7 separate regions of the Homo sapiens genome follow, and all the other regions are linked to region 1. The links are contacts of gene promoters, found by promoter capture Hi-C in blood cells and fetal thymus (Javierre and others, 2016). All regions are on one chromosome and are shown on one strand. Each heading gives the region's core, a stretch centred on a gene start or on the middle of the fragment in contact. The rest is flanking DNA. Distances are from core to core; before and after follow the strand shown.

What was found. The method cuts DNA at HindIII sites, captures the fragments that hold promoters and counts their contacts. A CHiCAGO score of 5 or more calls a contact.
Region 2: a contact is called between a fragment that was not itself captured here and the fragment with the promoter of HDLBP in region 1, in 1 of 17 cell types (neutrophils). The highest score is 5.8, in neutrophils.
Region 3: the fragment with the promoter of MAB21L4 here is called in contact with the fragment with the promoter of HDLBP in region 1 in 1 of 17 cell types (naive CD8 T cells); the score reaches 5.1 in naive CD8 T cells.
Region 4: a fragment that was not itself captured here is called in contact with the fragment with the promoter of HDLBP in region 1 in 1 of 17 cell types (neutrophils); the score reaches 8.5 in neutrophils.
Region 5: a fragment that was not itself captured here is called in contact with the fragment with the promoter of HDLBP in region 1 in 1 of 17 cell types (neutrophils); the score reaches 8.1 in neutrophils.
Region 6: a contact is called between a fragment that was not itself captured here and the fragment with the promoter of HDLBP in region 1, in 2 of 17 cell types (megakaryocytes and erythroblasts). The highest score is 5.6, in megakaryocytes.
Region 7: a contact is called between a fragment that was not itself captured here and the fragment with the promoter of HDLBP in region 1, in 6 of 17 cell types (neutrophils, naive B cells, erythroblasts and 3 more). The highest score is 8.5, in neutrophils.

The regions. Positions count from the first base shown.
Region 1 is chr2:241,313,328-241,317,526 of GRCh38, reverse strand. It overlaps HDLBP (high density lipoprotein binding protein), which reads left to right and starts at 1,855. Exons shown (of 28, transcript NM_005336.6): 1 at 1,855-1,957. It overlaps SEPTIN2 (septin 2), which reads right to left and starts at 1,602. Exons shown (of 13, transcript NM_004404.5): 1 at 1,545-1,602. RefSeq lists enhancers at 405-1,129, 1,080-1,139, 1,130-1,854, 1,780-1,879, 1,900-1,949 and 1 more and silencers at 1,330-1,679, 2,220-2,599. The HindIII fragment of the contact is 7,846 bases long and covers 1-3,199 here.
Region 2 is chr2:241,744,776-241,748,974 of GRCh38, reverse strand. D2HGDH (D-2-hydroxyglutarate dehydrogenase) reads right to left here. Exons shown (of 10, transcript NM_152783.5): 6 at 4,098-4,199. Among named protein-coding and RNA genes, the nearest start is that of D2HGDH, 12 kb to the right of the region's middle. The HindIII fragment of the contact is 2,476 bases long and covers 967-3,442 here.
Region 3 is chr2:240,894,205-240,898,403 of GRCh38, reverse strand. It overlaps MAB21L4 (mab-21 like 4), which reads left to right and starts at 2,248. Exons shown (of 5, transcript NM_001085437.3): 1 at 2,248-2,920. The coding sequence starts at 2,407. RefSeq lists enhancers at 1,077-1,712, 2,985-3,620. The HindIII fragment of the contact is 9,523 bases long and covers 1-4,199 here.
Region 4 is chr2:241,717,414-241,721,612 of GRCh38, reverse strand. The region is part of intron 5 of ING5 (inhibitor of growth family member 5); the gene reads right to left. Among named protein-coding and RNA genes, the nearest start is that of D2HGDH, 15 kb to the left of the region's middle. The HindIII fragment of the contact is 3,552 bases long and covers 87-3,638 here.
Region 5 is chr2:241,683,577-241,687,775 of GRCh38, reverse strand. DTYMK (deoxythymidylate kinase) reads left to right here and starts at 961. Exons shown (of 5, transcript NM_012145.4): 1 at 961-1,122; 2 at 1,899-2,007. The coding sequence starts at 993. It also overlaps a transcript of ING5 not described here. RefSeq lists silencers at 472-1,001, 752-1,014, 1,062-1,371. The HindIII fragment of the contact is 5,811 bases long and covers 1-4,155 here.
Region 6 is chr2:241,658,445-241,662,643 of GRCh38, reverse strand. It overlaps ATG4B (autophagy related 4B cysteine peptidase), which reads right to left. Exons shown (of 13, transcript NM_013325.5): 7 at 3,457-3,536. Among named protein-coding and RNA genes, the nearest start is that of ATG4B, 23 kb to the right of the region's middle. RefSeq lists enhancers at 1,019-1,518, 1,519-2,020. The HindIII fragment of the contact is 2,528 bases long and covers 1,007-3,534 here.
Region 7 is chr2:241,640,072-241,644,270 of GRCh38, reverse strand. The region is part of intron 1 of ATG4B (autophagy related 4B cysteine peptidase); the gene reads right to left. Among named protein-coding and RNA genes, the nearest start is that of ATG4B, 4.5 kb to the right of the region's middle. The HindIII fragment of the contact is 477 bases long and covers 2,184-2,660 here.

The DNA.
Region 1 (4,199 bases), core at 606-3,105:
CTTCTTCTTTTACAGCAGTTTCTGTATGCTGGTATTGGGGATAAAAAGGGGCCCTGAATTACATTTATGAATGATAGAGGGAAACCCTGGCCCCTTTCCCTAGGTCACCTTGCTAGTTTAAGAGCCAGTCAGAATGTAAATCTGATCTAATTAAAACGCTCTTGTTCTTTATTCCTGGCTGTGGCACTGGTGAGAGAAATCAAGGTGGAAGTTGAGGAAAAAAAATCAGGACAACCTTTATAGCTAATGAGATCAATGCCAAGATTATACATAACAGTACACATCATGAGTTAGGATGCTGGGTGGTGCAAAGAACCCATTAATGGGAGCTATCAAAAATCACTGAAAACAATGAGGCTCAAATCAGAAGTATCAAGAATCAGCTTTCATGACCCCTACACCATGATGTTTTTCTTTATGACGGCAGAACTATTTTGAAACATTAAATATATCGGCAGGCACTGTGATTCAAAAAGTATTTGAGAACCTACTAGGTGCTAGACACCAACCGAGGCAATGAGTATGGGTGACAACATGTGCCCTGCCCTCACAGCACCAATAGTCCACTGGACAAATACCATCTGGAACATCAGGTAAACACCTAAGCCTGTCTGGAGGAAATCTAATTTGGGCGGAATCCCACAAGCACAGACTAGGTAAGGAGAAGGCAGTTAAGGTGGGAAGTAGCCAGATTTAAGAGTTTGGGCAATGGCCAAAGGTGCAGAAGTTTGAACTACAAGAAGTTCAGTGTAGTTGGTTCGTGTGTTTCCGTGGAGAGAGGACAAGGTCTGGTGGCACTGACAAGAATTAGACCGAAAAGGTAAAAAAGCAAGCCAGGTTTGTCTGGGCCAGTAGGCCAGGTCACAGTTGGGACTCCACTGAGACCACGGAAGCCACAGGTTTGCTCCTCATCCCCGGGCCAACTCGGCGGCCTCCAACCCTATACCCTACCCCCTGCTGCCTGTCCGTGCCTCGCTGGTGCAGACCTTCGTCGCCTCTCCTCGCCGAAGGTACCCGCAGACAGGGCCTAGTCGCTCTCCCCTCGCTTATCCACGGCATCCAGCCGATGGGCTTGGAGGTTTGGGGGCTGGCCAGTCCTCCACGCCTCAGGGAGGAAATGGCACCGTTAGAAAGACAAGATGGCCACACAAGCTCTAAGTGTTTGTCGGGCCTAAACCTGTATCCTCCCTCCAAGCACCAAACCTCCCGACCTCGACCGCACTCGACGCCCCGAGGCCCAGCACCGACGACAGTGCAGAGGAATTCCCGCAGGGTCAACAAGGGGTCACCGGAATCCCCACTCCCGCGCCCGGGCCTGCCCGTGTCGGAGCCACTGTCGCCGGCACTAGGACCGCCCGGGACGGGGGAGCCCACGATAAGTGCCGAAGAGCCTGGGCTCGGCCGCCCCTCCCCCACACCGCCCCGCCGGCACCCCAGAGCCAGCCGACCACCGCCCGAGAGTATGGGACGAGCGGCGCGTCCCCCGCAGCTCCTCGGGAGGGCCGGCCCACAACTTGTGCGGGGTACACCGGCGAGACACTCACCCGCCAAACAGCCCGAGAACAGGCGCCGACCGACCGCGCCGCGGACCCGCCCAGCGCTCGCGGTCCGCTCACAGCCCGCCCCAGCCCGCCCCGCCCCGCCCAGCGCGCAGGCGGATTGCGTCACCGCGTCACCCCGCCCCTTTGCCAACTGCTTCCTGGCTCAGTGCGACCTGGCCTTCTTCCCCTCCCCCATGCGGCCGGCTTCCGAGTGCGCAAGCCCAGAGTCGTCCGCGTTGTCCGCCTCTGCGCAAGCGCCGTGCTCCTCCCACGGCAGTTGGCCATATAGAGGCTGGGGGTGGGGGGGGAGGTCAAGCGTAGCCTCTTCTCCTTTACCAAGATGGCGGCTTGTCCCTGTTTCGCCACAGTTCCTACCTTATGAGCTCGGTTTTCTTATGCTTATAAGAGTGGAACAGGTAATGAGAATCTTCGCCTTGCGGTGGGTAACTGGAGTGGGGGGAAGGCCGTTTGTTAGAAGGAGACAAGTGCCCACTGAGGAGGAGAGAGGCGGTCGCGGGAGGGCAGGTGGTGGCGGGAGTGCGGAGCGATCACGGGGAGGGGGAGCCTTCGCCTCTCCTCCTGTCCTCCAAGAAGATGGCGGCAGCACCGAGCTGGGGCGCCGAGTACGACTGGGCGGGGGACGGCGAGCGGCCGCGCGAAACTCGTCTAGCCCACCACCGCCGCCGTCTCGATGATCGGGGGGCCTCTCTGGGATTGGCTGCGCGCACGTCACGTGGGGCCGACGGGCCCTGCGCAGACCATCGAGTCGGGCGTCCCTCCCCGGGGACGTGGCCTTCCTGTGCCCGGGCTGGGGCCCGCCGCCCCGCGGGGGAGGGCGGAGCTGGCGCGGCCCCTAGCTTTCTCCTTCTGGTGTGGGGCCCGAGGTGAGACCTGGGGAGTGCTCCGCGAGCCCACGAGCAGCGACGTGGCTCGGGGACGGGAGGGTGCCGTGCCTGGCTGCGGCCTGAGCGGGATGGGCGCGGGCGGCTCCGGCCCGCGGGTTGTGCCCCGGCCCGGGGTGTCCTTTCCTCCCTCCCGCGTGGCCTGGAGGCACTGCAACTGTTCGAGACTCACGTCAAGGCTTGGCGCAAATACCCCTCGTTCAGGAAGCCTTCCTAGGTTTCCCCCGCTTAGAGGAAACACTTCCTGAGTTCCTAATGGCTGACCCGCATGGTGTTGGGAACCTGAGCCTTTCTGACACCGTGGCATGTTGCTAGGGTATTTTTGTGCGTAGCTCCTTTGAAAAGTGGTTAGGTGCTCAAGGCTAGCTGCTACATATCCTCTCCATTCGACTTAAAAAATGAGAGGGTCAGACTTGACATGGTGTTTGGACGCCATGTAAAATCGAAGGAAGTCGACTTGGGCTTTGCTTATTAAACAGTGCCTATTATGGTGAAATTAAACGGCTGAAGGAATGTGGATGAGTCGTAATCTTAAGGAACATGACGATTTGCCCCTCAGTTTTGCGTTTTATGTCCTCAGATTCATAGCTACCTATACCCTAAGCCCTCAATCAATGACTTCACATTTATTTGGTGTCTGCTTAAGGATAGTCACTTTCTTAGCAGCTAACTTCCTTAAAACCCTATTAAGATAGGTTAAGTCACAATTAGGGTTTTGTCTAAGGCTCCTGGTAGCGGCACATTGCATAATAAGCTTAATGTTCATTTAGGGAAGCAAATCTGGGATGCTGAAACACTGGATGAAACGTAGTGCTTAGGTTTATATTTTGATTTTTTGACATGTAAAAGTATCCCTAGGCTAAATTCATTAAGTACACATGATATTAGGATGCTTGGCAACAGTATTTAAAAATAGTTGAAAAGGTGTTTGGGTAAGAATTATTTCCATCATTTGGATTACCGAATCTCTGAGTCTGAAACATCAACCTATCAAGTTTTAGACTTGGGGAAAATGGAGCTGGAGCCTACTGCCTCAAGTCTCAGGGACAGCGTTTGAAACCCCATTAAATAATTCATCATGAGGATTAAACTTTCCTGTTACTGCTATTAGTTTTGCTTGGTGCCAAGCACTGTTGAAGGGACTTAGCTCATCTTATCAGGAGTCAAATTAACGTCATTCGGGTAAAAGTGCATTGAGTGTAAGGAGAGCACCTCAAAGATATAGTTGACCTATATCACGTCCCTCAGCGCCACTAGGCTTACTTGAATCCCTGTTACAGTGTCCTCTCCAGTGGGCAAAGCTAACTTCTCAGTGGCCTGGTGGGAGAATTTCTTCTTGAGTAAATACGTATTTTTCCAGGTTTTGTTGTTTTGGCCTTCCAGTTGTCTGACTTCAGCCTCATGACCTCACTTCTTCATTTCAATTCAAAAAAATATTTGCTGGAAATTGCTGTGTAGGGTTAAGGGTTCTGCAGATACAAAGGTTGAGAGGATATAGTCTTTTCGACCAGGTGCAGTGGCTCACGCTTGTAATCCCAGCACTTTGGGAGGTCGAGGCGGGTGGACACTTGAGGTCAGGAGTTCGAGACCAGCCTGACCAACATGGTGAAACCCTGTCTCTACTAAAAATACAAAAATTAGCCTGGCATGGTGGCGCGCGCCTGTAATCCCAGCTGCTCAAGAGGCTGAGGCATGAGAATCGCTTGAACCCAGGAGGCGGAGGTTGCAGTGAGCCGAGATTGTAGCACTGCACTCT
Region 2 (4,199 bases), core at 955-3,454, 430 kb before region 1:
GCACGAAGAGGCGAGTGACTCCTGTCTGAGACCTGGAGTGCGAAGAGCAGGATGCGGCAGCCGGGCTGGCCTCGGGCTCCCAGGACCACAGGCGGGCGGCACACAGGTGACTGCAGTTGGAGTGGGATCAGAGCAGAACACAGAAAACCTGGATGAAGAGGAACCACCGATCCAGATGGCACTGCCGCCCAGAGAGTAAGTCGGCAGAAGCAGTCAAGGCTGCCCCAGCCGTTCCGGGGTCAGGTGGTGAGGAGCCCCACCAGGGGCTGAAGGTGGAGGGCGGGGAGGAGGCGGTGTGGGGGCAGCATCACAGGCCAGGCTTGTGCCGGAGGCAATGGGCGAGAGGGGCAATGAGAACTGATGGCTGGGTTGGCTGTGGGAGGACAGTGGCAGCCATGGTGGGAGGGGCACCAGTGAAGCGGGCAAGGCCTGATTGGGGCAGATCCAGGAGAAGGGGCCTCCACCCAGCAGCAATGGGCTAGGCCACGTGACCCAGTGCCCAGTGAAAACACCACAAACGCTGGGCCAAAAAACACCAAAGAAACCGCTGAAGAGGCCGGGCACAGTGGCTCACACCTGTAATCCCAGCACTTTGGGAGGCCGAGGCGGGCAGATCACTTGAGGTCAGGAGTCACAGACCAGCCTGGCCAACATGGCAAAACCCTGTCTCTACTAAAAATACAAAAATTAGCTGGGCGTGATGGTGGGCGCCTGTAATCCCAGCTACTTGGGAGGCTGAGGCAGGAGAATCGCTTGAACCAGGAGGCGGAGGTTTCAGTGAGCCAAGATTGTGCCACTGCACTCCAGCCTTGGTGACAAGAGTGAGACTCTGTCTCAAAAACAAAAACAAAAAAACGCTGAAGAGCATCAAGAGCGAGGGAAGAGCCTGACCTGGGGGCTGAGTAGCACCAAGTCAACGCTGTTGGCCGACAGCCCTTGCCCCGCTAGCAGGTTTGGCCTCAAGCTTCCCAGCCTACCCAGAGTGAGGAATCCAGGAGACCCCCACAGGGCCACATCTTAGAAGTCAGGGCCAGAAGCAAGCCTGTCCCAACCAACTTGCCCCGAAGACTGCAGGGGAAATGGCTGAACAGAATGAGAAAAAAGCAGAATGGAGCCCGACGCAGGTGCTCATGCCTGTAGCCCCAGCACTTTGGGAGGCCAAGGCAGGAGAATTGTTTGAGCTCAGGAGTTCAAGACCAGCCTGGGCATCATGGGAGACCCTGTCTCTATAAAACAATTTTAAAAATGTAGCCAGGTATGGTGGTACACACCTGGTCCCAGCTACTAGGGAGGCAGGAGGATCCCTTCAGTGCAGGAGTTCAAGGCTGCAGTGAGCCACGATTGCACCACTGCACTCCAGCCTGGATGACAGAGTGAGACCTTGTCTCTCAAAAAAATACAGAAGAATAATGTAAAAAAAAAAAAAAACACTCTCCTGATAAATCATGACCATGGATCAGCCCGACACAGCCCTACACTGACTTGCTACCTGGGAGTTTCACAGAATTTCATCCTGTGAACTTGGTCACTCTCAGGCTGAACAGACCCAAAGACACCTAGCAAAAGCAAAAGCAAAAGCAAACCCTCTCTGGAGGAAGGTACCTCGTCTTTGGCATCTAGGAACCCCTACAAATAATTCTTCAAACATAATGAGCTGCACACTGCCACAGACAGCCAAGCACACAAGAAACTAAGGAGCCAGGAGCATGAACCAGCAGAAACAACAGACACTAAAAACAGACCACACAGGCTGGGTGCAGCGGCTCAGGCTCACACCTATAACCCCCGCACTTTAGGAGGCCACAGTGGGAGGATCGTTTAGCCCAGGAGTTACATGAGACCCTGTTTCTACATACAAAATTTTTTTTAATTACCTAGGCATGGTGGTGTGCACCTGTAATCCCAGCTACTCAAGAGGATGGCTTGAACCCAGGGGCTATGATCACACCACTGCACTTCAGCTTGGGCAACAGAGTGAGACCTTGTCTCTAAAAAAAACTTTCACAGACTACACAGACTTGAAAAAATGGAATTGCCTGATTATAAAACATCACAAAAAATTATTCAAAGTTTTTTTTTTTTTTTTTGAGATGGAGTCTTGCTCTGTCACCCAGGCTGGAGTGCAGTGGCATGATCTCAGCCCACTGTAACCTCTGCCTTATGGTCTGAAGCAATTCTCCTGCCTCAGCCTCCCAAGTAGCTGGGATTACAGGCGTCCACCACCATGCCCGGCTAATTTTTGTATTTTTAGTAGAGATGGGGTTTCACCTTGTTGACCAGGCTGGTCTCAAACTCCTGACCTCGTGATCCACCTGCCTCAGCCTCCCAAAGTGCTGGGATTACAGGTGTGAACTACTGTGCCCAGCCTAATTTTTGTACTTTTAGTAGAGACAGGGTTTCATCATGTTGGCCAGACTGGTCTCAAACTCCTGACCTCAAATGACCCACCCGCCTTGGCCTCCCAAAGTGCTGGGATTATAGACGTCAAACTATGTTTAAAGACACAAATGGTGAGCTTGAGAATACCTAGAATAGAAAACTATAAAAAGTAACATTGCAGATTTGACAAAAATAACAAAACTTTTAGAAATAAAAACTTTCATAATCAAAATGTAAAACTCAATGGACGGAGGGAACCACTCATGGAGGGGTTCAGCAGCAAATAAAACACAGCAGAAGAGGGCATTCGTGAACTGGAAGACAGATGAGAAGAAATCACACAGAATGCAGCACAGAGAGACACGATGATGACAATATGGAGGGGAGATTAAGAGACACAGAAGACGGACTGAGACATTCTATCCTGAATCACAGTCCCAAAAGGAGAGGAAAACACAGACAATATCTGAAGCAATAATGGCTAAGAATTTCTAGAACTGGTAAAAGATACCAAGCCACAGGTTTAAGAAATTCAGTAATTCCAAGGAGATGAAAAAGAACGTACACACACACACCACACACTGAAAACTTTAGAAGATCAGAAAGAATGATCTTTAAGTGGCCCAAGGGGGGCCAGGAGAGAGGCAGAATCCCTTCACAGCAGCAGCTACCGACAGCAAAGTTCCCAACAGCGAGGAGGCCAGAGGACAGCGGGTCAGCGTTTCCACCGGGATAAAAGAAAACAAACAACAGCCTGAAGCCATGCGCCTGTGGAAAAGAGCCTTCAAGAATGAGGATGAAATAAAGGTATTTTCAGACACGCCAGAAGTGAAGAAGTGGTCACCAGGAGACCTTTACTGCAGGAAATGAACGAGGATATGTTTGCAACATAATCCCAGACAGAAGATCGGACACAAGAGAGTGGAGGGCAGAGAAAGTGGCCATAAAATAATAATCCTGGTGAGATTGCTTAAAATACGGAACACACATCACAACAAGAAGATGTAAGTGGCTGAAGGAACAAGCATGCGGAGTCTCAGCATCCTCCAGGGCTGCCCAAGCTTCTGGCAGCTCAAGACACCGAACTGGGAGTTGGTGAGCTAGACCCGCCACCTCCCGCGCGAAGACTGCCGGGCTGTGCGACTTCTGAACTCCTGAGGAGGAAATGCTGGATAAACCCGCCCGATTCAAATGAAGCAAGAAAGGAGCCGCAGGCAGGTCCCAGGAGAACCGAAGAAGTGGCTGTGAGTGAAGCAGGCCTGTGGAGACACAGCAGCAGGCAGGTCTGCTGAGACCCCCAGTCTGGGCTGACTGGGGAAGCCCCCCATTACAGGAGGGAATTCTTTATCCCCACAGTAACTAAGAGTGGTGTCCTGAACTGATGCCAAATGACAGCATGTCCCTCAACCTTACTCCACAAGCTACTCAACCAACACGATGGGGTGAATGAGGCAACACAAGCCTGTTTTCTTATGAAATGAAGTGTCCTCTGACCAGAGACAGAGAGAGGCCTCACTCTACACCTTTACCCATGACCACCAGGAAGGCCAGGTCCTGGATTCCTGATTCCTTTGGAAGCAGAGATGTCAGGAGACACGGGAACCGACTGTCCTTGGCGGGGGGTCCCTCCATCCCCTTCCTCACACCAACAGTGGCACCATCAGAGCAGACGCTCGAGCCCAACCACCCATCTCAAGGCACACATCGAGGAAGCCCACCGAGGAAAGCCACGTTCACAGCCCTGGGCTTGGGTGGACACAAGATGGACACCGTGGTGATGATCCCCAAAGTGCCCTCCGACCCGATGAACAGCTGCTTCA
Region 3 (4,199 bases), core at 999-3,498, 420 kb after region 1:
GAGTCCTGGGTGCACTGTGGCTAGTGGCTGCCTGAAGGCCTCTGGAGCACTTGGCCCCTTTGTGGTCAAAGCTGCCCAGCCGTCCAGGGCGGGTGCCCGCATCCCCTCCGTCAGCAGCGGCTCTCCTCTCTCTCCCACAGGTCCAGCTTCCCGGGGACCTTTGCTTGTCCACAGTTCCCTGGTGTACTCCACATGCTCCTGTGTGCCTGGCATCGTGCCTGGCTCTAGGGTACACTGAGGAGTGTGACACCGTTCCAGCCATAGGGAGCTCACCATGTCATTCACCACCTGCCAGAAGGGCCAAGGGGCAAGGATGGGGCCTGGCCCATCAGAGGCTCTGACCTCAGCTGGGGCACAGGTGGAGAGAGTGGGGTCCCTTGGGGCAACCAGCTGGATTCAGCTCAGGAACTGGTGGGAGCCAGGAGGCCAGAGCCAGCGAAGGACAGGACAGGGTGTCAGCCAGGTGGAATCCCCTGCTGAAGAGAGGAAAGGGGGGACATGGTCTTGTGCTCTTGGTGTTGACAGCAGTGGAGAGGGGGCTTTAGGGGCAAAGGAGGATGCAAAGCCTGGGGGCCGCTCCCGAGGGAGAAGGGCCCTGCTCTGTGGCCACTGGAGGGAGCAGCTTGGGGGCTGAGAAGCCGAGCCCCTCCCATGGCTCAGAGCCCCTGGGCACTTTGGGTAGATTGGGGTGTGGTTGGGGGTCTCCTGGGCGAATTCAGAACACCGGGAGGTTCCTGGGAAGGAGGAGCTGGGACACTGAAGGTGTCATCAAATCACAGATGTTGAAGCCAAGGCCCAGAACAGGCAGATGAGCTCCCTGGGCCACTGCGGCCGAGGGTGAGGGGTAGGACCCCAGCTGCCCTGCAGCAGCGTCCACCTCCCCCAGGCCAGAGTCCTGTGGAGATGGAGGAGTGTGGCACACGGCTGTGTGTGGGGACCTAGGCAGGCCGTGGGTGAGGGCCCAGGACAAATGGGGCCTTGAACCTGAATGGCTGCCCTCGGGGAGGGGGACACGTGCTCTAAGCAACTCCAGGGAACAGGAGTGGGCCAGCTTGGAGGAGGGATATCTGTCTCTCGCTTGACCGTGGGCTACCCTGTGAGGTGGTGAGCTCCCTGTCCTGGGAGGCATGGAAGCAGAGACCCGCTCACTGGGCTGCAGCCCCTCATAGGGGCTTCCAAGCACCAGGAAGTGAGTGGCTGTTGCCCCCTGCCCCACCCCTCCTGGGATCCTGGTTCTGCCCACAGCTCTGACTCAGATGCAGCTCCCCGGGGGGTGAGAGGCCCACGTGCGGTGGCTACAGGGGCAGCATCTCCACGACGCCCCTGTGGGGCCATCTCCATGTTCACTGTTTGCAGACACCCCTGTGGCTGAGCACCCGATGCACTCGGCCAGCTGGCAGGGCCAAGGGTCGATGGGGCGGCTCCCTGCTGGTTGGGACTTGCACGGCCCTGAGCAGGGGAGGGGGGCGGGGCTGGCAGGGTACCTGGTGCAGGTGCTGGAGGGGGATGGTGGGGCGAGTTTCTCCACCTGGGTGAGGTGGAGCCACGGAGACTGCTTTTCTCCAGAACCAGACGAGCTCCAGCTCCCAGGCTAGGTGGGTGCCAGCTCCTCTCAGGTTGGAGGCTGGGCAGGGTGGGGTGGGGTGGGGTGGGGACTGGTAGCCCAGGGGTCCAGGGCCCAGATGGCTGGATGCACAGCTGGGGCAGAGGCAGGAGCCATGCCAGGACTGCAGCCTGTAAGCCGGGCACAGGTGTCTGAGGGGAACATTGCAGAGACGCAGCCTCCAGGTTCCCAGCCTTCCAGGCAGCCTTAGAGAGTCGGGGGCTCCCCCACAGCGGGGTCTGGGCAGCCACCGCCCTGCCTCCCCTTCCTCACTGAGCCACGGGGTGCCTTGTGTTCCCTCCAACCTGGCAGGGAGGCTGGGGCAGGGGGGCCTGATCCAGATACCCGGCCCCTGGGCTGTGGGGAGGAGGGTGGAAGGAGGCCCATCAGCAACACACAGAGGCTCCCATCCCAGGGACGGCACAGTCCAGCGGCAATATTTCTCCAGGGACCCCAAGCCTGGCTGGGACAGGGGCCGTGCCTTGGGCCTAAGATGAGAGAGCTCTTCTGAAGGGAGGGAGGAGGGTGGTAACCAAACCCAGCCCCCGCCTGCCCTGCATGGCCCCTGTGACATTCCCAATTGCTGGGGACTGACTCACCCCCACTTCAAAGGCCTTAAATAGTTCAGCTATTTCACCTGCCACACTGTGCTGTCACTCTGGAATTCTGCTGTGTGGGAGCTGAGGCCCCACCTGCAGACCTGCTGCTCACCTGGGCAGGTGCCTCCTCACAGCCCATCTGCACAGCTGGCCTGCGGAGTCCTCCTCAGGGGCCACTGGCCCTCACCTGCCACTGTTGAAGGGATGCCTGCCCCTGCTCTCCCCACCTCAGCCATGGCCGTGCAGGTGCCCCTGTGGCACCACTACCTGCAGGCCATCCGGTCCCGGGAGGCGCCGCGTGCCCAGGACTTCCAGCGCGCAGAGAACGTGCTGCTCACGGTGCTGGAGCGCGTGCATGCCCTGGACCCCCGCTTCATCGTGGACTACTCCCGTGGCCTGGAGGCCTTCCAGTTCGCCCTGCGCTCCTCTGAGGACCCAATGGACATGGAGGTGCCCCTGTGGGTGGATGCCGAGGCTCTACTGATTGAGGAACCAGAGGCCACCCAGCCGGAGGATGGCCTTGAATTATGCCACCTGGGTGTGCCCAGGGAAGGGGCTGGCCTGGAGCGGTGGACCACCGAGGATACCTTCACTGCCTCCTCGGAGGGTGACGCCAAGTGCCGTGGACACATTGTGCCCAGCAAGGTCCTGTGTGTCCTCAAGGACCTGCTGGTAGCAGCCATCGTACACTGCAAGCACCACAGTCTCATCGCACCAGGTACAGGCACAGCCCACTCTGCACGCGTATCTGCGTGTACCGAGGGGCTGCTGTGTGGGTGTCTGTGTGCAAGTGTGTGAGTGCACATGTGTGTGATTGCCATGTACGTGCACACAGGGTGGCGACTGTCTTCTGTGTGTGACTGCACGCACAGGCATGTGTGCACGTGTGTGACACTGTGCAAGTGTGAACAGTGTGTTGGGGCACAGAAGTCGGGAGACCTCACTTAGGTCTTCCAGCTCCAAATGCCTGTAACAAGACAGATGACGTGTTCCGTGTCGTGTGTGTTTGCACGGGGGTTCCACGGCTGCCAGTCGTCCAGTGGCTGGAGTCTGGGGCAGCTGCTTCACTGGTGGCCTTGCAGGAGGGTCCCTCACACGGCTCTGGGCAGGCGGCTCTCTTGCCAGTCACAGCCTGTGACCTCGAGGCTCCCCGAGGCCATCCCGTGCCCACTTCCAGTGTCTGATGATGTTGCACCAGGTGGGAGGGGTGTGTGTGTGCCTGCCTGCGTGCGCGTGAGTGCAGGGGTGTGAATGCGTGTGCAGGTGTGTGCCCGTGTCTTATCAGCTTATGGCTGAGTTGTCTATTGGTGTCTTGAGCCCCAAGTGGGCTCTGAGGCTGGGCTTCTGCGTGGACCAGGGGCTGGCCTCAGTCTCTCCTCTGGGGCCTTTTGTTTGTTTGTTTGTGAGACTGAGTCTCACTCTGTCACCCAGGCTGGAGTGCAATGGCACGATCTTGGCTCACTCCGCCTCCTGGGTTCAAGCGATTCTCCTGCCTCAGAATCCTGAGTAGCTGGGATTACAGGCATGGGCTACCACGCCTAGCTAATTTTTGTATTTTTAGTAGAGACAGGGTTTCACCATGTTGGCCAGGCTGGTCTCGAACTTCTGACTTCAGATGATCCGCCCACCTGGGCCTCTCAAAGTGCTGGGATTACAGGTGTGAGCCACAGCACCAGGCCCACCTTTGGGGCCTTGTTGATATGGTCCAGGGTGAGTCTGAGCCCAGGGCTCCTTCAGCAGGGGCTGCCTGGACGGCGACGGTCGCTGGGAGGACAGGGCTCAGCCTGTGCAGGGGCCAGGATGATGGGGACCCTGAGTGGTACAGCCATCCTCCAGGGGGTCAGGTTGTCCTGGAAGGGAACTGGGGACTGGAACAGAATTTGTCACATGTGAGTCACCACAGTCCTCACAGGGCTTTGTTGCCTCGAGTCACCTCCCTAGTATTCATCTGACCCTCATGTCCTCCGTGAGGTCAGCGGGTGGGGTCAGCTCACCTT
Region 4 (4,199 bases), core at 613-3,112, 400 kb before region 1:
TCACGATCAGGGAAAGCCAAGGAGCAGAAGTCTGGGTCCCAGAGGGAATCAACACTCAGCTTTTCCTTGGATACCTGTCTAAAGCTTTTCTACGCCTTTGCAATTGCCTGTACACATACACACACACTCGGGCTCAGCATGCACCCGGCCTCCCCGCTGCCCTCTGGCACAGGGGCGCCCACCTAAGTCTGTCCTTTGCAGGTAATCTGCTCTTCTGCTCTTTCTCTCTGTCTGGGAATAGACAGGGGTTTCTCTTTAGAGCTGAAATCCATCAGCGTCACAAGTCCAGGTCCAGGTGCTGCCGACACTGCTTTCAAGCAACAGTCTCAAGTAGTCTTCGGGTCTCTCCTCTGACAGCAGCACGCAAGGGTCTACGTCTCAGCCTCCTGCCGATTCCGGGATGCCACCTGTGGCTTCACCTCCAAGGGGCTCCTGCGGTCTCCTCGAGTCACCTCTCACCCGCGGAGAGCAGGGCAGCACCCTCTGCTGCCAACCGTCCCCGAAACGCTGACGCCCTCCTCTTCTGCGCCGAGTCCAATTCTGTCCACAAAGCCCGACCTGACATCTTGAGCTGCCACTTGACCTGTGTCTCAGCATCACCAGGTTCGAGGGCGCTGGCCAGATTTGATGGCTGTGGGAGAGGGCCGGGGGCCTGAGGGGACCGCCCAGCAAGGGCACCCCAGAAGCTGAGGCCACCGTGCAGGCCTCACTGGCCTCTCAGTCTCGCCTGAGGGAGCGCCATGGCGTGTGGCCAGGGAGTGCTGCTATCAGCCCTGAGGGAGGCAACCAGGAGGCCATGGGGAGCCCTGTCCCTTGCACAGGCCAGGGTGACCCCAACTGTCAGCGGCTGCTGACTCCCTTCAGCACCACTGCCACAAGAGGCACCCTCTGTGCTAACTCCCCAGGGTGTGGCAGGCACCCCTCGCCAGACGGTGCCAGCGAGCCCTTCCGCGCCCGGCCCCGATGGCTTCCCAGCACTCCACGTGGCTCCTAGCAGGGGGCTGGCTGCCTGTCCAAGCCCCGGGATTCCAGGTGCTACAGGTGACACTGCCCTTCATCCACACACACAGGTTCTGCCTCGCCAGAGCAAGGCCACAGGGCAGCAACAGTGCAGGGGGCAGCCTCAGGTCACGGGATCTCAGACGAGACACGGAGCATCTGTGCAGTCTAGGAACACTGCATTCCAGGAAGAGCCCCGGGCACGTGGGGAACAGGCCTGAAGAGGGCAGTCCACAGGGACAGGATGGTGCGTGCGCCTGGGTCCCCAGCAGGGAACAGGACCTGCCTTGAGGCAGAGCGGCCTGGCACCACAGCGTGACCACGAGGGGCGTGAATACCCACTGTGCTGATGGGTCAGGGACGCGCACCACAGAACTCCAGAGCCCAGGGGCAGGCGGGCTCCTGCACACACCCAGGATGATGCCCTTGGAGGCACCCGAGTGCACACTCCCGCCCCGGCAGGCCAGGCTTTGGGTCCAACCGACTGGTCCTCAGGATGACCCGTCTGCCCACCTGCACCATCCTCCTGTCCCTCTGGAAGGGGCCTCCTTGGCGCCTTGGACGTCAGAGCCCAGCTTCAGAGCTGGCCTTACCAGCCTGTCTCGACGTCTTGCAATGGGACAGGAGCAGCACTGCCACTTGGGGGCACAGAGAAGAAAGAGATTCACACACAAGCTAGATCCAGAGCCGCAGGGCCCCGCAACTGTCGCCATCGGTGATCACCCTTCTCATCTGTCACTACTGGGACCTGCACGGCAGGCAGCGCTGAGCTCCCAGGCTCCGCATTGCTACTAAACAGTGCTGGTCAGCGCACTGTCAGGACAGGAAAAGCCATGAGGCCACAGTGGATCTTCCTGTGTTTGCAGAGGTGCTGGCTGTTCCTGAGGTCTCTGAAGCTGGGCAGAGCCCTCAGGGAGGAAGCCCCGACCCCAACAGGGAGCTGGAGTCTCCTTCACCCCCACGAGGACCCCCAGTGCCTGCATTCCTTATGCCTAGCATACCCTTGAGAAACAGCACTGGGTGAGGAAGAGACCAGGAGGAGTCCCACTTTCACGCAGAAAAGGCACGGTCGGGACAGGGCCTTCAGGTTCCGAGCAGGAAGGAGCAGGAAGACTCAGAACGCTGTTGCCACTGAGTTAGAAAACACAAAACCCAGCAAGTCACAAAAACCACATTCTCAAAGATGTCGGGGAGCTGTGGAGCAACAAGAGCTAGATGACCTGCAGCCAGAGTGGGGGGTGTTGGGGGGTTGGGGGCGGCGTCCGCCTGCCTCATGCACTGAGTGAGGGCTGGGCTGGCCACTGGGCCACGCTGAGCCCACACAGCCACACATGGCGGCCGCGTCCCCACCGACATTTATAGTCCAGAGGCTGCACAGAGCAACTAAAAGCAGAGGGAAAATCCCTGCAACCTCGGAGTTCTCGAGCAAGGGGTCTGCTCGGGCACCGCTGGTCTCCTCCCCCGCACTTCTACCAACTGTGGAAGCCGCTGGGGCAGGAGGCGAGAGAGGAAACCTCAAGGTCCTCAAGGGGCCTCGGTGGAGCTGAAGCTGAGACCCTGCCCCGCCCCAGGCCCCCAGCCCTATTGGCCTGGACTAAAACAGAACGAACACCTCCTGGGGAGAACAGAAATTTCCCTCTCCACGCTTCCTTTATATCTAAAGTCAGACAGCTAATAAATCATGAGACATGTACCCTCAGCAGGGAAATAGGACTGATTATGTTTTTTTAAAAGCTGGTTACCAAGGAATGGTGGCACATGCCTGTGATCCCGGCTACTCAAGTGACCCTCCCACCTCAGCCTTCCAAAGTGCTGAGATTACAGGCATGAGCCAAAGCACCCAGCCCTACAATCTCTTAAATGAAAAATGTATTAAAGGAGATTAAAACTAACTTAGGGCCGGGCACAGCAGCTCACGCCTGTAATCCCAGCACATCGGGAGGCCAAAAACAGGCAGATCCACCTGAGGCCAGGAGTTCGAGACCAGCCTGCATAACACGGTGAAACCCTGTCTATACTAAAAATACAAAATTAGCCAGTCATGGTGGCACGTGCCTGTAATTCCAGCTACTTGGGAGGCTGAGGCAGAGAATCGCTTGAACTTGGGAGGCGGAGCTTGCAGTGAGCCAAGATTGTACCAGTGCACTCCAGCCTGGGTGACCAAGCAAGACCGTCTCAAAAAAAAAAAAAAAAAGACAGAAAGAGAAAAGAAGGAAGGAAGGAAGGAAGGGAGGGAGGGAGGAAGGGAGGGAGGGAGGGAAGGAGGAAGGAAGTGAGGGAGGGAGGGAGGAAGGGAGGAAAGAAGAAAGGAAGGAAGGAAAGAAAGAAGGAAAGGGAAGGTGAGAGGCTGAGCTGGGCGGATCACTTGAGGCCAGGAGTTTGAAACCAGCCTGGCCAACAGGCTGAAACCCCGACTCTACTAAAAATACAAAACTTAGCCGGGTGTGGTGACGCTCACCTGTAATCCCAGCTACTTGGAAGGCTGAGGCGGGAGAATGGCTTGAACCCGGGAGGCAGAGGCTGCGGTGAGCGGAGATTGCGCCACCGCACTCCAGCCTGGGCCACAGAGCCTGAACCTGTCTCATAAATAAATAAAGTAATAGAAACAAATCAAACTGAAGTACAGAAAGAAAAAAGCTTGCAGAAAGTAAGCAGAGCCTCGGTGAGCTGTGAGAAAATCTAAGCTAAGGAACGCACAGGGAGCTGGACAGCAGGAAGAGGAGAAAGGAGAGCACAAAAATACTGGAAGAACTGTCTGAAAATTTTCCAAATTCGATGCAAAGTATAAACCAACAGTTCAAAGATGCTCAACAAGTTCCACGCAAAATATACACAAAAAAATCACACCAATACACATCATAACCAAACTGTTAAGAGCCAGTGACAATGAGAAATCTTAAAAGCAAAAAAAAAAAAAGAAACCACCAAAAATAATTATTATCAGTAATTTATCATCAGAATCAATGAAAGACAGAAGAAAATGAGAGAACATCTTTAGCGATAAAAGAAAAAAGGTCAACCTAAAATTCTATACGCAGTGAAATAAAAGCATTTTCAGAGAAACAAAAACAGAGAATTCATCACCATCAGCATACATGTACTGCAAAAAATGTTAAAGTTCTTCAGTAGAGGAGAAATGACAAGACAGAAATTTGCATCCACATAAAGAAATATACGTAAGCAGAATATGTATGGAAAAA
Region 5 (4,199 bases), core at 1-2,500, 370 kb before region 1:
GAGGCGGGCAGATCACGAGGTCAGATCAAGACCATCCTGGCTAACACGGTGAAACCCCGTCTCTACTAAAAATACAAAAAATTAGCCGGGCGTCGTGGCGGCCGCCTGCAGTCCCAGCTACTCGGGAGGCTGAGGCAGGAGAATCGCTTGAACCCGGGAGGCGGAGGTTGCAGTGAGCAGAGATCGCGCCACCGCACTCCAGCCTGGGTGACAGAGCGAGACTCTGTCTCAAACAAACAAAAACAACAAAAACACACACACGGACTTTCCAGAGCCCTGCAGTTTTGCGCTTCAGGGACAACAGTGAACATTTATCGATCCCATGGTTCTCCTACAATTGCCACGTGGCCAGCGTCTACACAGCCCCCCATCCTGCCCCTGCTGTCAAACACAGCGTTTCCAGAACGCAGTCGTGCTGGGCTCCAGGTGAGCTTTGGGAGGAGCCCCGGCTGAGCCCCTGCACTGGGCCCCGCGCTTCGGGAAGCATCTCGCTCGTTCGTCTCGCGCGCCGCGTGACCGGAGCCCTCACGCTGGCAGCGGGCACCGCAGGGCCCTGAGAGTCGGGCCCGCTGCGCGCAGCCAGGGGCCAACGAGAGCCGACGCTGGGCGGGCAGCGTCCGGGAGCCCCTCCGACCCTGCGCTCCCCTCGTCCGCGCCCTGACCCCGCGTCTCCGGCCGTCCAGCCCGCGCCGCGTCACCTCCCCTCCCGGAGCGAAGGGCCCTGCTCGCCCGAGGACGGAGGCCCGCACGGGACACGGGGCCCCAGTTTCCGCCCCGGAAGCCCAGGACACGGCTCCAGTGGCGGCGCGGCCCAGGGCGCAGGCGCGGGTGTCGGTCCCACCGCGCGTCGTCCTCGCCCCGGCCCCGGCCAATCCCTTCGAATTTGGCCGAGGCCGGGAAATACTAGCTAATCACGGCGCGCGCTGTTGACGCCGGCCAATGGGAGCTCCGGAAGGCTGCGTGGAGACGCCAGCGGCGGGCGGTGGACAGTCATGGCGGCCCGGCGCGGGGCTCTCATAGTGCTGGAGGGCGTGGACCGCGCCGGGAAGAGCACGCAGAGCCGCAAGCTGGTGGAAGCGCTGTGCGCCGCGGGCCACCGCGCCGAACTGCTCCGGTTCCCGGGTGGGTGCGCGCGGCGGGGGGTGCGCCGCGGCCTTCGGTGCCTCTGCCTTCCCAGGGGCTCTTTGCTCCGCTTCGTTGTCTGCGGCTGGCGTGCTGTGAACTGTGCGGTTTTTATTTTGAAAGACGGGCTTTCCCTGTGTCGCCCAGGCTGGAGTGCAGTGGCGCCATCTCGGCCCACGGCAGCCTGGACCTCCCGGGCTCAAGCGATCCTCCCGCCTCAGCCTCCCGGGTAGCCGGGAACATAGGCGCGCGCCACCGCGCCCGGTCCACGCTGCGTGTCTTTAAGTGCGGGGTATGGTGATGACTGACGTGTAAACCCGCGCGAAACCGTGGTGTCTCCCCCAAAAGTCTCCTCCAGCTCTTTTGTAATCCATGTCTCGTTTTTGTGGGTTTTTCTGGTGTTGTGTTTTGTTTGATGGCTGTTCGCGCTTTCAGGGGTTTTATAGCATATATTTAAAAGTTTTCAAGTGAAGCATTGACCTTAATCTTTGGCCACCCAGTCCACAAATTTTATAAATGCTTTCTTTGAAGTCTCTACTTTCTACCCGAGTTCTTTTTTCCTAAAGCATTTTTCATCCCAGCTTGTTTGCAGATTGCTGTTATTGCTCAGAGAAATTCCTTTGGCTTCCGCAGAAGATCCAAGCCTGTCTAGAGATTTAGTAAAGTAAAATTCAACGTGAGACTTGAGTCCGGGAGAAATTCAGTCCAAACTATATTGTAATATAGAGGGAAAGCCTGATCTCACTTGCATTTTGTGTGTTTCTCTTTTTTTCTAGAAAGATCAACTGAAATCGGCAAACTTCTGAGTTCCTACTTGCAAAAGAAAAGTGACGTGGAGGATCACTCGGTGCACCTGCTTTTTTCTGCAAATCGCTGGGAACAAGTGTAAAAACCATTGCACACTGCTCCCTCTGCCCTTGCCACTTTCCTTCCTCCTGAGATTCAGTGAACGCAGCACTCGATTCTGAATGACAGTGACAGTAGTGCTGGGCCTGATGTTCTTCTGTTTAGCAGTCCTGTGGGCAGAGGTGGTGAAGCGCCCTAGTTCCCAAAGGGCGCTAATGAATGCTGTTTCGTCCTCCTGCTCCCCACACCCCATAACTAATAGACTTCAGTTTTTCGGGTTTTTTTAGACGGAGTTCCGCTCTGTCGCCAGGCAGAGGTGTGATCTCGGCTCACTGCAACCTCCGCCTCCCAGGTTCAAGCGATTCTCCTGCGTCAGCCTCCCGAGTAGCTGGGACTACAGGCGCGCCCCAGCATGCTCAGCTAATTTTTGCAATTTTAATTTACTTTATTTTTAAATTTAATTTTTGTATTTTTAGTAGAGACAGGGTTTCACCATGTTGGCCAGGATGGTCTCTCTTGACCTTGTGATCCACTCGCCTCGGCCTCCCAAAGTTCTGGGATTACGCAGGTGTGAGCCACCGTACCTGGCCCTTTTTTTTTTATTTTTAAGACAAGGTATTGCTCTGTGGCCCAGGCTGGAGTGCAGTGGCACCCGATCATGGCTCACTGCAGCCTCAACTTCCTAGGCTCAAGCAGTCCTCCCACCTCAGCATCCTGAGTAGCTTAGGGCCATAGGGGCATGCTACCAAGCCCGGCTAATTTTTTTTTTTTTTTTTAATGTAGAGTCAAGGTCTCACCATATCACGCCCAGGCTGGTCTCAAACCCCTGGCCTCATAGACTTAATGTTTTAAAGATAGCTTTAGGTATATAGAAAAACTGATCAAAAAGTAGAGTATGTAGAGCGCTCCCTACATACTACCCCTGCCTTCCCCCCTTCCCCATTATTTATGTGCTGTGTTATGTTACATTTGTTAAAATTGATAACCAATATTGATACATTAGTAACTGAGTTTATATGAACTCTCCTACCACCTTTTTTTGTTTTACATCATTGTAGTAGGTTTCCTCTTCATTCAACACTTAATGTTGATGTGTGTTCTTTCAATGTTTTTATTTACATTTATATACATATGTAGAAACTACTATAGTTAGAATTTTGTTTTTTAACATAAATGAGGTCATACCATACAAATTATTTGGCAGCTTTCTTTCTAACTCTGCCTTACAGATTTCTGCACTTACAGATCCCCTAACTCTGCCCTTCTCATTCTCTTTAATTGTCGTCGCATTGTCTCTAGAACCACGGTACGTGTAGCCAGTTCCCTGCTGGTGAATCTTCAGTGGTTCCTCATCATCCGTGTTACATGAAACACTGCATTACTCTCCTCCGGCTTAGCTTTGTGTCTTGCTTGGAAAGGCTGTCCCCACTCCAAGTCTTAAATGAAAATGAGACCATTTTTAATAATCTTTTTAACACATCTAGAATTTATGGAGGCAATTGTTCTTCTGATTTTGCTTTTTGTGGCTTTGTAGAAAAGTGATGAAACACGTATATGCCCAATTTAAAATGAAGAATAATCCTGATTTTACTTTTTAGATAATAATCTTATCCCAGGTACCCAGGGCTACGTCTCTTGTGTCCATCTATTCTCCTACAGGTTACTTGTTTCCCTAATAGATATTTAAGTTTCCTCTATGTCTAACTGTGGCTTGATAGTTTTTTTTTGTTGTTTTGTTTTGGTTTTTTTTGAGACAAGAGTCTCGTTGTGTTGCTCAGGTTGGAGTGCAGTGGCTCAGTCTCGGCTCACTGCAACCGCCGCCTCCCGGGTTCAAGCATTTCTCCTGCCTCAGCCTCCTGAGTAGCTGGGATTACAGGCGCGTACGACCATGCACAGCTAATTTTTATGTTTTAGTAGAGACAGGGTTTCACCATGTTGGCCAGGGTGGTCTTGAACTCCTGACCTCAAGTGATCCTCCCACGTCGGCCTCCCACAGTGCTGGGATTACAGGCATGAGCCACCATGCCCGACCAATAGTTCATGTCTTTTTTGCCCTAATTAATAGTCCCTTGTTTGGATGTACCATAGTTCATTACCTACTAAAGGACATCTTTGTTGCTTCCAAGTTTTGGCAGTTATAAATCTGTTATAAACATCCTGGTGCAGGATTTTGTGTGGTCATAAGCTTTCACTTCTTTTGGGTAAATGCCAGGGAGCACCACTGCTTTAAT
Region 6 (4,199 bases), core at 1,021-3,520, 340 kb before region 1:
TCAGGAATATGATCGAACACATGAATCGGCTCAAGGGCTGATGCGTAGCTGGGCCGGTTGCTTCTGTGCCTCCAGAGCCCAGCACTGAGTGTGTGACCTACCACGTCACAAACACCCTGCTGTCAACAGGGTGCAACGGGCTTTTGCCTATTCCTGCCACCACCTGAAATTTTCTCGTGTTCTCTTTATATTTTGAACACATTTAAAATTTATATTTCTCTATCAATGACAACTACACAGTACACATACCTACTCTCACCTCATGAAGCCAGGTCTTTTCTCAGAATTCTAAACATTTTCCAGTAGCATTTGGTATGGCACAAAGATGAGATGCCCAGGCCAGTTGAGACTGCCTTTCTTCAAAGCAGCTTAGTAGTGATACTATTATTTGGATGTTTAGAGAAGTTTCCCTTTACTTCTGCAATTTGGAAATATTATCAGGAACATGTATGTTTAAGTACTTCTGATAAAAAAATTTGGGGGTCTTTAGCTCTAAAGACTCAACTCTCACCAACTCAGGGGAATTTTCTCCTACTCCTTCAGTGGCCAACTCTCCCGAAAAGTTCTAATCCACATACTCTGCTCTCAGCTGCCTCTATTTGGCTGCACTGCCTCTCAGAGAGTTGAGTTCCAGCTATTGTGATTCTCCTCCCCACTCTGTTTCTGACTGTGCTTGCTCTGGTATTTACTTTTCTTTCATTGGAGTCATTTGTCCTCACTGCCAGACTGACACGTTTTCCAATCTGTATTTCCTCCCTACATTCAGTGACATTCTGTCTACTGTCGTTAGAAAGGTCTAAGCCCATCAACGTTAAGGACAAGAAGAGCATGCTAAGGATGTCCTGGCTGGCCTTTGACTGGGGGTGGACAGAAGGATGAGTTGCGGGGGGGATGGGTTGGTGGATGGGGACACTGTAGGCAGTAAGGTCTCCCCTTACCCCACAGGCTTCACCTAAAATCTGAGTGGGAACACCGTCAGGCAGCTCTTTCGCTGCAGGAAGAAGCTTTAGTGGAATTTCTGAATGGCATCAGTCTTCTCCTATCTAACTGCTCCTTCCACAAGCAGTTCCGAGAAACTAGAAGAAAAGTCCTTGCTTAGCCAAGGACACGTCTGTTTCTCTAGCTTCGGCTTTGCGGACTTCTTCCTCAGACGTCCTCCCTTGCGCACTCTTAGCAGCACGACTGAAAAAAGCAGCCTGCTTCCTGCCCTCCCCCCACTACTCCCTCCTGGGGCTTTTGGTAGGGGTCATTCAGAACGACCCCGATGTCCTCCTCACAACACCACGCCACACTCAGGAACCCAGAAACCCAAGCCTTGTGCATCAATGCCAGTGCCTTTGCTGGCTGGATGTGGATGCCTTTCTTCCTAAATGGGGGCATCAGGCACCTTCCACATGCTCCTGTGAGGAACAGTGTCCTTTCAGGCAGCTGACGCAGTGAGACGAAGCCAGTCAGACCAGGCAGCCTCCACATCCTCCCGGGAGCCACCATCCCCAGGGGCTGGGAAATGCAGATTCAAGCTCTTCCAGGACCTGACTCCACTCTCACTCTGACAAGCCACGTTTCAGCAGCACTGCTTTGGGCAGCCCTGAGACTCCCGAAGGGACGGAGCTGGAGTCCACACAGACAAGCTGCCCCCAACACTCCCACCAGTGCTACCTGCACCCAGAGGGACGGAGGTTCTAGGAAGCCCTGACCCTTGCGCCTTCCTGGCCACTGCACCCAGCAACAGCCTCCCTAATCCGAGGCCAGGGACTGAGGTGTGACTTGGTGAGATCCTGAGCACGCGTGCGGAACGAGGGGGTAAGTGATTTCCCCAAACACGGGAGGGAGGATGGGGCAGTGAACAGGGAACTAAGGTATAATAGTATATTGTGTAGCCAGTTAATAATTACAATGCTGTCACTCATGGCCAGGAGAAAATACTTAGGAAACTATGTAAGTTTTTGAAAAGCACAGGAGAAATACTGAGAGTAAGAATGTCAAAATGCTCATATGAGTTATTTCTGAGTGGTAAAATCAATAATTTTTCTCTTTCTTTGTACTCTTCCTGTGTTTCCAATGTTTTATAAAAATTTCAAGAAACAGAATGGAGGAAAAAGGCAGATGGAAGAAACAAACACCCTTTGGTTATGATCCCAAGTTCAAGTCTCTGAGGAACAGAATCCTGGAAGGAGAGCCTGCTGTGGCAAAGCTCTCAATGCTGCAGAAGCCAGCCTCACTCTCCCTTATAAAGTCCTGCCTCACTCCCTCCGCTGTGTCACAATGCCCCCGAGGATGGCCAGACGATGAAGAAACAGAATGGAGAGGCAGGGAAGGGGCGTGTCTGTGACCCAGCACACACCTGTGTGGTGACCTGGCACACCCACAGTCACAGGGCAGGACCCACTCCCACTGTGAATCTGTGCGCAGTTACGGCTGTGGCTCTGAATGAGGTCTTTTTTTTGGGGGGCGGGGGACGGATTCTCGCTCTGTGGCCAGGCTGGAGTGCAGTGGCGTGATCAAGGCTCACTGCAACCTCCGCCTCCCAGGTTCAAGCGATTCTTCTGCCTCAGCCTCCCGAGTAGCTGGGACTATAGGCGCGTGCCACCATGCCCAGCTAGTTTCTGTATTTTTAGTAGAGACGGGGTTTCACCATGTTGGCCAGGCTGGTCTTGAACTCCTGACCTCATGATCCACCCACCTCGGCCTCCCAAGGTGCTGGGATTACAGGCATGAGCCACCGCGCCCGGCCTAAATGAGCTCTTTCTTATGGAAAATTGGATTCAAGGCAATAGCCTACATGTAGAACTTCAATAAAATTGGAATTGAGGGAGTTTTGAGAAGTTCCTTGGGAAAAAGGTGGCCCTGAGTGAAAAAGGCAATGAGGCATTTTTAAGAGTTCTCAGCTTGGCTACATCATGGAAGGTGAAACATGAATTTGGAACTCACTCAATGAGCCCATTTGTTAAAACTGAGCCACAGTTTTCCTCCTAGATGTAAATGTTGCCACGCCCAGGTTCCTTCAGGGTTGCAGCAGACCTTTCTTCCAGAAAGCTGAAAAGAGCTCTGCCTTCACGACGTGCCTTTGCTCGAGATGGTGCAGCTAGAGATGGTTGCTACATCTCTCTGTCGCACATCAAGGCACGCAAAATAACTTCACCAGAATTCCCACACGAGGGCGCCTAAGCACAGCAGGGCCTTCATAAACGATTTGTAACCAAGACACAAAACACGACGTGAGATACCAAGTCGCGGCCTCCAGACAGCCTGGGCTCTCCTCTCTTGGTATGACCGCCGGGATAGGAGAGCGAGGCCACCGTGCATCTGGCTTGGCGCACAGGCCCCACGGAGCACCTGCACGGCATGGGGCGACTGACAACACTCGCCGAGGCTCCCGTGGGGACTCAGGCGAGGAAGTGTGTATGTTGCCCGTGATTTCAACTTTCTTGTCCATGGAAACTCTGAGCCACTTACTGATTTCCTCCATCACAACAGTGTTGTCCATTGCAATGTGGACCGCCAAGGAGCTCCACGTATCGAAGACAGCAAGCTTCCTACAGAGAGTAGGAGAATGACCATAAGCTTTTGTACAATTCAAAGACGGTTCATCTTTGCAGCTATAGCTGCGCGAAGGAGGGTTCGCGTTAGAGGTGCTTCTCGGATGAGAAGGGCCAAGGCTCCTAAAATCCGGGGCACAGCCAATGCCACAGACAGGAAGAAAGCTGAGGGTAAATCTGCTTCTTCTCGCCTGAGGCCCAGGGGTCCTGCCCTTGCCCCAGCCTCCATTCATAGAGAGCACACGCAAGAGGCTTTTGAGTGGCCTGGTTTTCTGGTCTCACTGGCACAGAGGCAGGAACTAGAACATGAACGCAGCTCTGAGACGCTGTGGGTTTTGCCAACTTTGAGGCAGGCCTCCCAGCACCTTCACGCTCTGCTCTGCTCTCCCCTCCACCAAACACGCTGAGCTGACAACCAAGGAATCTGAGTCCTTATAGAGAAATCTGCAGCTTAGTGGGAAGCACGACTGTGCACGCCAGTGAGGAGGAACCATGGCCTTGGATTTCCCCTTCTGAGGGAAGGGCAGATTCTGCAGCCAAAAGTCTAACACGACTCTGATCTCATCTCAGGTCTGGCGGAGGTGGGGTCAGAGGACCTCAACAAAAGGTAAAACAATAGAAAAGGCCCTGAGGCAGCAAAGACCTGGTGCTCCCGGGGAC
Region 7 (4,199 bases), core at 1,173-3,672, 330 kb before region 1:
TCCGGCCTCAAGGGATCCTCCCACCTCAGCCTCCTGAGTAGCTGGGACTACAGGCATGCACCGTCATGCCTAATTTTTGTATTTTTTGTAGAGGTGGGGTTTCCCTATGTTAAGCAGGCTGGTCTCAAACTCCTGGGCTCCAGTGATCCACCCACCTCAGCCTCCCAAAGTGCTGGGACTACAAGTGTGAGCCACCACACTTGTTCCTTCACTGACTCTCAGATGTATGAGATCCACTTAGGCCTGACACCAGCTGCCTCAGCAATTCGCCATGGAGAGGTTCCCTTGTCTTATTTCATAGCCCCTGTCATAATTTCATCATCTTCCCGTGCCACATCATGTGATTTATAAGGTAATTCATGTAGCTCCTGATAGAAAAGGAGTCAAACTTCGGAAAAAATATCCACTCGCCGGGTGCAGTGGCTCACACCTGTAATCCCAGCACTTTAGGAGGCCAAGGTGGGTGGATCACCTGAGGTCAAGGGTTCAAGACCAGCCTGGCCAACATGGCAAAACCCCGTTGCAGTGAGCCGAGATCACGCCACTGCACTCCAGCCTGGACGACGGGGGGGGGGGAAAATATATACATACACACACACACACACACGTATATATATATTTATACATATATGTGTATATATTTATGTGTATATATACGTATATATATGTTTATATATATATGTACATATATACATAAATAAATATATAGACCCATCTCTAGACTTCCAGGTAATGATATTAATTTGAAATAAGATGACATGTAAGGCCAGGTGCCGTGGCTCATGCCTGTAATCCCAGCACTTTAAGAAGCCAAGATGGGAGGATCACTTGAGCCCAGGAGTTTGAGACCAGCCTGGGCAATACAGGGAGACCCTGTCTCTCTTAAAAAAAAAAAAAAAAAAAAAATAGCTAGGCGTGGACATCTGTAGTCTTAGCTACTGAGGAATGTGAGGCAAGAAGATCACTTGAGCCCAGGAGGTCAAGGCTGCAATGAGCTGAGGCCGCAACACCATACTCCAGTCTGAGCGATGAAGTGAGACCCTGCCTCAAAAAAAGATGACACGCAGGAGGAACAAGATGAAGAAGTAGGTTGGGTGTGGTGGTTCACCTGTAATCCCAGCACTTTGGGAGGCCGAGGCGGGCAGATCACTTGAGGTCAGAAGTTCGAGAACAGCCTGGCCAACATGGTGAAACCCCATCTCTACTAAAAATATAAAAAAGTTAGCCAGGCATGGTGGTGCACACCTGTAATCCCAGCTACTCGGGAGGCTGAGGCAGGAGAATCTCTTGAACCCAGGAGGCGAAGGCTGCAGTGAGCTGAGATAGAGCCACTGCACTCCAGCCAGTCTGGGCGACAGTGAGACTCCGTCTTAAAAAAAAAAAAAAAAAAAAAAAAAAGGACGGAGAGGTGCTGTACACCTTAAGAAAGAGTCCCCCTTAGAAGCAGTTCTCCCATTTGGTCGGCTGGATCCCAGACACTTGATTTTCCACGCCCTCTTCCCTGGGACTTCTGCGATCACAAGCAGAAGAGGGCAGATGGCATTTTAATAATATAGTAATTCCATCAGAAAAAACATGTGACTTAGTACTACTAATCTGACAGGCAGAAATGTAGGGAATTGTACTCAATGAATTTAACCAACTTCTCTCCATTTAGTACCAATTACACTTCATTCAACCAGAGAGGACTACAAAAAAAAACGAGTAAATTTAAGAGCTTACTGTAAACCACTTCATTTCGAAGAAACCTTCCTAAAACACTTAGAAGTTATTTTCCAAAAGATTTATATTTTATAAATTCAACAAAGGTTCTTCTTTTCCTTTAGAAAGCTCTTAGGTTTAAGATAACAGTTTGCATATGATTACTACTTTTTTTTAAATCTCCAAGAGTTTACATGAGAATGCTAGTAGTTCAGTCCTGAATGAAAACAGAGAAAGAGAGAAAGGAACTCCAAATTTAGCTACATCAGAAAGCTAGAAAACACTGTTTCAGTGCACACACTGGGCAGATTGCGCACATTAAAACCCACTCCCCTAGATCGCGCCCACCGCACTCCAGCCTGGGAAACAGAGCAAGACTCCATCTCAAGAAAAAAAAAAAAACCACTCCCCAGCAGCCTCTGCATTCATTACATGTTATGCTAACATACTGGATTTATGTTAAACTCTACAAACTGAAAGCTTTGATAGTAGGGGAATGTGTAGGTTATTATTAATTCAAGTTCTGTTTTTTTTTTATTACCAACCACATGCCAGACACAAGTGATGCACTAGAAATGCAAGCACAAGACACCAGCTCTGTCCTCAAGGAATGGGCAGTGTGGCTATTTAAGTGCTGGCACCTGCCAGTCGTCTGAATGGGGAGCATGCTTTTAGGGACAGTGCTAGGGACTGGTGGAGAACACAGCCACACTGTGGTCTGCCTGCCACCTCCTGGACCTCTCCACACCCGCAGAGGCCTTTGGCCTCTTTTCTTTCCCACCCACATTCACACCCTGGGTGACCTCATCTGATGTGACCTCCAGTCTATCTCCAGCCCAGGCTTATTCTTTTAGCTCCAAACCTGTAGACCCAAAAGCCCACTGGACACTGCTCTACAAGGATGTCTAACATCCACCTCACATTCAACACACATAAATCCAAACTCGCAACAGAAAGCTTCCCACCAGACAGGACCTCCCCAAGTCTTCCCCATCTGAGTTTCTTTTTTTTTTTTTTTTTGAGACAGAGTCTCGCTCTGTCGCCCAGGCTGGAGTGCAGTGGCGCAGTCTTGGCTCACTGCAAGCTCCGCCTCCCGGGTTCACGCCATTCTCCTGCCTCAGCCTCCTGCGTAGCTGGGATCACAGGCGCCCGCCACTATGCCCGGCTAATTTTTTGTATTTTTAGTAGCGACGGGGTTTCACCGTGTTAGCCAGGATGGTCTCGATCTCCTGACCTTGTGATCCGCCCACCTCGGCCTCTCAAAGTGCTGGGATTACAGGCGTGAGCCACCACGCCCGCCCCCCTCCATCTGAGTTGCTTAGCTCAGGCCATACACTATGGGGCCATCTTTAACTCCTCCCTCTCTACCCATCCCTCTCCCAACTTCCAATCTACAAACAAATTCTATTGTCTCAACCTCCAAAACACATGCAGAAGTCAACCTCTTACCCACCCTGAGCTAATCCACTGGCATCTCCTTGCTGGCTTGTTCAACAGTCTCTTAGCTGGTCTCGCTGCCTCTGCCCTTGCCCCTCTGCAGTACATTCTCAAAAGAGATGCCAGAGCAAGCCTGTTGAACACAGTCTATCATGTGACTCCTCCTCTAGAATGAAACCTTCCAAACGGCTGCCATCCTGTTCAGAATAAACACTGAGTCCTCACTATGAGCTGCCATCCTGTTCAGAATAAACACCGAGTCCTCACTATGAGCTGGCAAGGCCCCACTACACTGAGCCTAAGTCACCTTTCTATCCTCAGCTCCTGCTTCTCCCACCGCCACCCGCTGCACCTGAGCCACACCAGGCTCTTGCTACCTGCCCTTCCTCCTACACTGCTTTAAGTCTTCGTCAAAACTTAAACCTTCAGAGTGAGACCCTTCCTGGCCATCCTGGCTACAATTCCAATCCTCCTCATCCTTGGCCCAAATCACCATCCCCCAGGAGCCACGCACTTCGCTGCTAATGCTGGTCTCATGTCTAGAACGTTAGCTACCCCAGGGCAATGGTTTTCATCTATGTTGTTACTTCTCTAGTCCTAGTGTCTAGAACAATGCCTAACACATATCTGACAGTCAGTAACAAACAGTGTATTGAATTAATGACTATCAGAACAGAAACTGTATTACACATGGTCAAGGAAGGCAGAATCTTCAAGAACTCTAGAGATCAAAGGAGGGCAGATCATTAATCATCTCTGAAAGGAAATACAGCATCAAGTCAGAAGGAAAATTCCCCATGATATCCTACAAACATCATATACGTTTTTATCAGCATAAACAGAGACCTTTAAATGCAAACACCTTTTCTACTCTGATCCCACATGCAGCAACATCCAGTGTCCTATTAAAGTATCACCATGTCAACACAGTTGTCAAGGGAAAATAAAAGATAAAATAAAGTATCGCCATGTAACAACATAACTGTTCTCCCAACTTGAACATGATGATTTTCACATTTTAGGTCATATGATCGACACTGAACCGTGTTTTTGACCTTAGC